Regions from separate parts of the Homo sapiens genome. Here region 2 is linked to region 1. Evidence: promoter capture Hi-C in human tissues and cell types (Jung and others, 2019). All regions are on one chromosome and are shown on one strand. The core of a region is centred on a gene start or on the middle of the fragment in contact, and the rest is flanking DNA. Distances in the headings are between cores, read along the strand shown. Region 1 holds the start of COL17A1 (collagen type XVII alpha 1 chain). Region 2 overlaps COL17A1 (collagen type XVII alpha 1 chain).

Region 1 (3,681 bases), core at 407-2,906:
CACAGACTTCTTTTTGTTTTTCATAATCTGAGAAGGTGGTTAGTTCTTAGGTCAGGTCAGTTTCACCAATCTAAGGAGTTTTTTTCCTATTTTTTTTTTTTTTTGAGACGGAGTCTTGCTGTGTTGCCCAGGTGGGAGTGCAGTGGCACAACCTTGGCCCACTGCAACCTCTGCCTCCTGGGTTCAAGCAATTCTCCTGCCTCAGCCTCACAAGTAGCTGGGGTTACAGGCATGCACCGCCACACCCAGCTAATTTTTGTATTTTTGTATTTTTAGTAGAGATGGGGTTAGTATAATATGAGTGTGCACCACTACGCACACCACTATGCTTGGCTAATTTTGTATTTTTTGTAGAGTCAGGGTTTTGCCATGTTACCCAGGCTGGTAAGTTTCTATGCAAGCTTGAAGCAGAGCTGTTCACTTTAATTGTTCCTGTGTAAACTCTGATCAGACTCATGTGGGTGTTTTGCAGGGCCTAAGAGTAAAGCAGGACACCTCTGAATCTCTGGAGTGAGTCTGTGTGGGGATAGACATCTGTCTTAGGTTAGTTCTGACAGATCTGTGCCTTAGCTCTAAGAGAGAACATATGGAGGTAAGAAGAAACTATTCTGCTTTTCAAATAAATACCTTTTAAAAATCTTGCTACGTTTTACAAGTCCACTATTAGACTACTGATTAACTACTTCTCAAAAGAAGGAATGTGCCAGAGGTTTTGCCTCCACTTCAAAAAGTAAAGTGATAATTTGTCAGTTACCAGTTAACGTCATCCACTTAGGTATCTAAACTGGTAATTCTCATCTCAAAGTGAATTTTTTTGGCAGGAGGAAACCCAAGTTGACTCGTAAGAGTATATATACGGGAAACAATTTTCTTCCTTTTTTTATTCCTCTAAGTTTGATCCTGCAAAATTTCTGAATTAATCAGATCATTTCAAAGATCCTACTTTTCTTTAGATTAGAGGTAATTTTACAGCATGGTAAACAGCAATGTTTACCATGTATGGCTTAATCAGAGAGGCCCAGTCAGCACAGGGACTGTTTCTAGAAGGCCCCCTTACCTATACTTTAACTTCACCCCTGAGTTGTTCTCTTCGTCCAGTGGAGAGAGAGACAGAGGGAAGAGGAGAGCAAGATAGCGAGAGAGGAAACTGAGATTGGGAGAGAAGGAATTATAAGCCCGTATCATATTCTAAATAAAACAACACAAGTCATTTTACAATGCTGAAAACAATGCAGAAAGGTCTTGCCTCTAAAGCCCGCTATATTTTAACCAGCCTTCAGCCTTCTCCTTTTCCCCACTTATTTCCTTTGAAAGACCTACCCTAAGCAGAATGCATACACCAAAGTCATCTTTTATAACCAATTGATCACTTTAACCAGAATGCTAGAAACTACAGAACTTCATCTTCTTTTCTCCAATAAACATTTAATTTCTAAATGGCAAACCTTAAATCAAAGTCTCAGAGAAAAGGAGAAAGGTCAGTCTTCCTGTTTACTTACCTGGTTTGAGGTTTTGAAGGAATTGGAAACAACTTTGAATAAATCCCCCTCTCTCTTTCTTCTCCTGATGTTTTCTTCTAGAAATTTGCAGTGCTCACTTTTTTTTTATCCAGACCCAGCCAAGGTGTGTTAAAGCTGAGTGATCTTTCAAAAATGTTCACTTTTCTTTCTCTCCACCTTGTTTCTTTCAACTCTTTGCTTCCAAACATGTCCTGACAAAGGTGTGTCATGGTTTACAGCGTTACTCCACCCTTCCAATTATCTGACACTTGCTGGATTTAAAAAAAAAATCTGCCTCCAGGAATCAAACTTTACTGGAGGCAGAAAGCTTCTCCTTCCAGCTTAGGTAGATTAACTATTTATAAGGCCCATGGGGAAAAGGAAACAAAGGACCAGCATAAAGGAAATGCTTTTTTATTGCCTACCTTCTACAGCTGGAGAACTGCCACAACTTTGTGGCAGTACCCTTCCTCAGTGCCATGGGTACTGGAATCCCACTGCATGATTCATGAGTCTAGGCACGTGGATGGGCTCATGGATGAGCATGGTCTAGGCACATGGATGGCCTGTGGTCATACTGCCTGAGCCCTAGAAAAACTGAAGTTGGCAGGATTTATATTCAAGATCTGTTTCCCCTATAGATGTCTTCGTCCTCTGTTCCTGTGTCCTGTGTCCTTTGTCTTGTTTCCCCTATAGATGTCTTTGTCCTCTTTCCCCTCTTGTGACTCAAGCCAGGTCAAGCCCATCTGGAGAAAATAGTTGGTGAACTAATTCATAATATGCTAATGACTGAATGTACTGAGCAATTGGTGGGGTAGGGGTTCGTTTTACAAAAGAGGCAACCAGATATAGTGATGCTGACCTAAAAGAGTGACATGTTAGTGATGGAATTTTAGGCATTTAGCCACCTAATAATGGAGAGAGGTGCTGTTGGGAAGGGATAAGGACCTTCTTGTCCTTCAAATCAGGTGACCGCATAGTCTCCATACACCTAAAGACATGTGTGGGCTCCCAGATGTCCTGCAACTCCAAGTACATCCTGGGGACCTTTAGATTTCCCTAGAGGGTCAACTTGCATCAATCAGGATAATTCTTATGAATACCTGGATAGCATCTGGCTTCCCAGGGGGCCTAAAGACTAGCTTGAGACACTTGGTGTTGGTAAAATGGGAAGTCTGAACCTGGAACTCACTCAGGCAGTCCTTTGAGGCCATAGCACATTCCTGGGACCCAGCATCACACTGGGATTCCCAGTTCTGAGGCATTATCCTAAGATACTGGAGGGGAGCAGTGGGGCCCTTACAGCATAGCACCGATGTGCAACTGCACCTTGCTATTGTGGGCACTGCATCCCATGGAAGGGTAGCAGACCACAACAACAGCTGTGGGGCTCTTGCTCCTAAGCTGCCCATATTCCACACTGGAGTCGTGCATTTCAGAACCCTTTCAATTATGCAGAATTTGACACTTGCTTTGTAGGATGTTCTTGCCTTCCCCAAATAAATACTCAATATGTCTTCCGTCAGTTTCATAGTAGAAGAACACTGAAGAACCCAGAACACACAGAGCTTTCAGCATAAAATAGACATGCCCCTGCATCATTTATTTCTTTATTCATGAATTCAAGAATTAAACAAAAATATATTGGCTCCTGCTTGGAGCCAGACATTAAACTATGTGCTAAGAGTTTGGTGGTGAAATATGAACATAGTCCCTCTGCTTATGGAGTTCACAGTCTAATGGAGGAAGACAGGCCTTACATAATGTATTAGTCGGTGAGGGTTCCCATAACAAAATACGACGGACTGGGTGGCTTAAACAACACAAATTTATTTTTTCACAGTTCTGTGGGCCAGAAGTTCAAGATCAATGTGTCAGGAGGTTTGATTTCTCCTGAGACCCCCCTCTCCTTGGCTTGCAGATGGCCGCCTTCTTGCAGTATCCTCACATGGCCTTTCTCTGTGCATGCACATCCCTGATGTCTCTCTCTGTGTGTCCTCATCTCCTCTTCTTAAAGGACACAGTCAGATTGAATTAGAGTCCACCCTGATGGGCTCCTTTTTTACTTAAATTTAACTACTTCTTTAAAGACCCTATCTTCAAATAAATTCACTGAGGTACTAATGGCTAGGGCTTCACATATGAATTTTGGAGGGACATTATTCAGCCTATAACAGTTACG
Region 2 (3,681 bases), core at 659-3,158, 35 kb before region 1:
CCCGGGCTCACCAACAGCACCAGGCAAACCTCTCATGCCAGGCTCGCCTGCAAAGGACAAAGAACTAGCTGGTTGGACACTTGCAAGCTGTGTATGCTTTAACAATGGTGGTCTGCTCCCTCCTCCAAGAGGTCAAGGAAGCAGCTTCTGCTTTGATTCCAAGGTCAGGGCCACTTGGAACCCCTGGGAAGTGGCATGGGCTCAACCAGAAACCACACCTAATCAGAATCATGGGCATGTGCATGAGTCTTATTTCCTTGGAAACTGAAAACCACCCCTTGAGTCACAGCTTTATCACTGTCAATTTCCTTTATAATCATGCCAGTTGGCAGGAGGTCAGTGGTTGAGAGGATACCGGGGTGCAAACTTTCTGCTGCTTCGGGAAGAGCTTAATTTTCTCAACTGTATTCCCCAAAAGAATCAGAGACAATCCTACACTTTCTTTTTTGCTCCAAACATTTACTGTTTGGACTATACATCTGGATACCTCCTTATCCTCCACTCCAGGCTTTATTTTCTCATCTTGTGTTTTTTCTAGATCACAAGTTCCCTGAAGGGTTTTAAACAGATTCGGTCTCTTACTTCTGGATTTTTTCCAACCTAGTGACTGATGGATTTACAAAAGTCGTGGATAGATTAAAGTAGATTCCCATGACAGACTGACCTGTGAGGCCTCGAGGTCCTTTCTCACCCTGGTCACCTAAAGCAAACAAGGGGGAGGTGGAAAAAGCCACAGTTGTGAGCAAGGAAAACACTCTCACCCAGTAACAGGGTCCCCGGCTGCAGGGTAGTTCTCACTGTATCCGTGAACTCCTGTCAGCGGATGTTGGTGAGGACACAGCATTAATGCAGCCAAAGGAGCACATCTGATCTTTGGCAGAGTCAGTTCCCCCCCTACAAACTGACTCCCCAGCCCCTGCTGTTGCACAAATTGGTGCCATGGACACAAGAGGTCAGATGCCTTGGAATTCTGTGTCTTCACCACCCCGAGAAACACTCACCACCCCAGAATTCAATGTGATGTTAGTGCTTTGTTTCCCTTCTTTGTGCCTCAGTTTCCCTATCTGAGAGGTTGGATTAGAATGAGATCTTGGTCCAGGTCCTGTGCACCCTCAGACCCTACAGTGAGGGTCCCATCTGGGCTCCCAGGAGTGAGGCAGGCCCTGGTAATGACAGAGCAGCAGTGAGTGGCATACCTTTGGGTCCTGGTGGTCCCATTGGTCCTTTGTCACCTAAAAAGGAAATGGACACCTTGGTGTAAAATGCCCTACAAGGGACAACCAGGAAGGGGCAATGTCTGTCTCTGAAGACAGGCTCCCTCAATCCTGACTTCTTCTTCCCCTCTTGCACTTGTCAGCCTGCATAGGCTGTGGGTCGTGTCCATCAGACCCTCACTGTCCCCCCAGGCCTCCCTCCAGCTTACCTTTGACACCAGGAAGTCCTACTTCACCTCGGAGCCCTTGGAGACCTACAGGACCTGCCCGGCAGAAGAAACCATGCACACAGATGAGTATCCCTAGCTTTGGAATGATGAGACATGTATGCACACACATGCACACATACAGGCACACATATGCACACACCCTATAGTAAAAGTCAAAGGATGCTTTCCATGGACTCCTTCCCAAGTCCTTTTTAAGTCATTTTGGCCCAGGTTCCTTGCCTCTGCTGATGAACAGGCATTAGAACACATTGTCGAGTCTTGGCAGAGGCACTGGCCACAGCTCAAGATTCTCAAGACAGCAGGACAAGCTCTGTGGCCATAGGGGACAAGAGAGAGGCAGGTGCTTGCTCAGATGGAGGCAGGATGGGGACTTCCATTGCTGAAGCTGCTGGAGGGTCTCAAGCCCTAAGCCAGGTCAGAAGGGATCTGGACAGGACATATCAGGGAGCCCAACCTCTGCCACAGGAGACACACATGCAGACTTGAATTCTATATCTCTAGGAGGCTTGCTTTATAATTGCTTCTTTGGCTTTAAAAATATTTGGTTTTCCTTTTAACATTGCCACCTTTGCCCTGGAAACAGAACCTATTTACAAGAAGCAGCAAACTGACCTGGAGGGCCCTGTGGGCCAGGAGAGCCGCTGGAACCTGAGAAGGAGGACAAGACAGCAATCAGCAGAGGGGCAGATACAGGTGGGGACATCTGGCCCCGGTGCAGGGCAGGTGGGGGTTAGGGACGCTGTCTTCCAGGTGAGGGCTGTGTGAGTGTATTGCAGGCCAGGGGTGACCCCAGTGCATGTCCTCCTTAGGGAGGGGGTGCAGCTGGGTGGGATCAAACTACCCTTTGCTCTTTCCTGGTCAGAGTAGAACATTTGGGCTGGGGCAGTAGAACATTTGGGTTTTGAGAAGGGGCCCATTCTCCCTGGGTTGCCCAGACATGTTACTTTTGGTGTGTGCATCTGGGCCGCAGTCAGTCAAGGAAATGGTCTAACTTCTGATTTCCTGAATGATCCATCCACCCACTTAGGGATCACATAACGGGGCCATTGAAGAGAGATGGAAACATGGCCCCAAGCCCATTATGGGGCTAAACTTACAGCCCTAGTCTTGACTCCCCAGGGACTGCTTTTCTGGGGGATGCTCTTTGGACCCACCCACCACCCCTGCACAGGCCTGGGGCAGGGGGTTAGGGCTGTCTGGGGTCCCAGGGCCTCTTCTCTGTGATCCATCCTGAATGTGGCTTCTCCTCTGGAAAACTTTGATTCCTTCCTGCACACTGGACTTACCTTTGGGACCCACAGAACCTGGGACACCAGGTGGGCCATGAGGACCTGGTTCACCAGCAGCCCCTGAGGAGAAATGGAGGGATGAGCACTTTGGGAGAGGCCCCAGTGTGGCTGCCCCCTATCCTGGCACTGTCATTTGGAGGGGATGCTTCCCACCCTGCTAGTGGTCTTGGATCCATTTGGTGCCCCAGTGAGGCCACTTATCAGCAAAACTCCTTAGCTTCTACCCCCAGAGACTTTATAGTCTATGGAGTTTGACACCTAGTAGGCACTCAATAAATTTTATTGTCTGGTTGAGCAATATTTTAAAGAGAAAGTAAAGCTGAAAATAAAGCTTCCTGCTCACAGTCTGTTAGCATTAAGAGGACTTCTGGTATCTGTCTTGGTTTCCCCTGACAAAAGCAGTCTCATAGTTAAGGATGGAATTGCAACACCTTCCCCAGCCTCTCCAGCACTGAACCTATGTCTGGGGCCTTCCCCACCTCCCTCTTGGCCTCCTTCCAGCTAGGAAAGGCTCAAAGGTCTGTGCCCCACTCCACCTTACAATTGACTCTGCCCTGCCCTGCCCCCTGAGCCCCACCTCGGCCTGACTCCTCACCCTCACCACCCAACTCCAGGAAGGCCACTGCTCCTGTGACCACTTTCCCGGTGGATTCCAGGGATGTCAGATGGGTTCTCAGCCCTAGGCCTGGCCCTGTAGCCCAGCCTATGCCCAGCGTCTCTGCAGGGCCTAGCACAGACCCTGACTCAGGGTGGGTGCTCAGTAAATGAAGGAAGGGGGGAGAAACAGAGACAGAGTGAAGGAGGGACGGGTGTTGACAGAGAGAAGGAAGCACAGGCATAGCTAACTCTGCCGGTGAAGGAATTGCCTCTTACCTCTTTCCCCTTTCTCTCCAGATCCAGGAGGCCCTGCCTCACCACGAGGTCCCATGGGGCCTTCTCGCCCTCTCT

Evidence for each region. The method cuts DNA at HindIII sites, captures the fragments that hold promoters and counts their contacts. A contact is called where the count stands out against the background at its distance.
Region 2: a fragment that was not itself captured here is called in contact with the fragment with the promoter of COL17A1 in region 1 in 1 of the 25 tissues and cell types used here (neural progenitor cells).

What each region holds. Positions count from the first base shown.
Region 1 is chr10:104,084,224-104,087,904 of GRCh38, forward strand. It overlaps COL17A1 (collagen type XVII alpha 1 chain), which reads right to left and starts at 1,657. Exons shown (of 56, transcript NM_000494.4): 1 at 1,500-1,657. The HindIII fragment of the contact is 3,215 bases long and covers 1,115-3,681 here.
Region 2 is chr10:104,049,425-104,053,105 of GRCh38, forward strand. It overlaps COL17A1 (collagen type XVII alpha 1 chain), which reads right to left. Exons shown (of 56, transcript NM_000494.4): 23 at 3,607-3,681; 24 at 2,731-2,793; 25 at 2,057-2,092; 26 at 1,424-1,477; 27 at 1,197-1,232; 28 at 665-700; 29 at 1-47. Among named protein-coding and RNA genes, the nearest start is that of MIR936, 3.1 kb to the left of the region's middle. RefSeq lists an enhancer at 3,658-3,681. The HindIII fragment of the contact is 6,067 bases long and covers 1-3,681 here.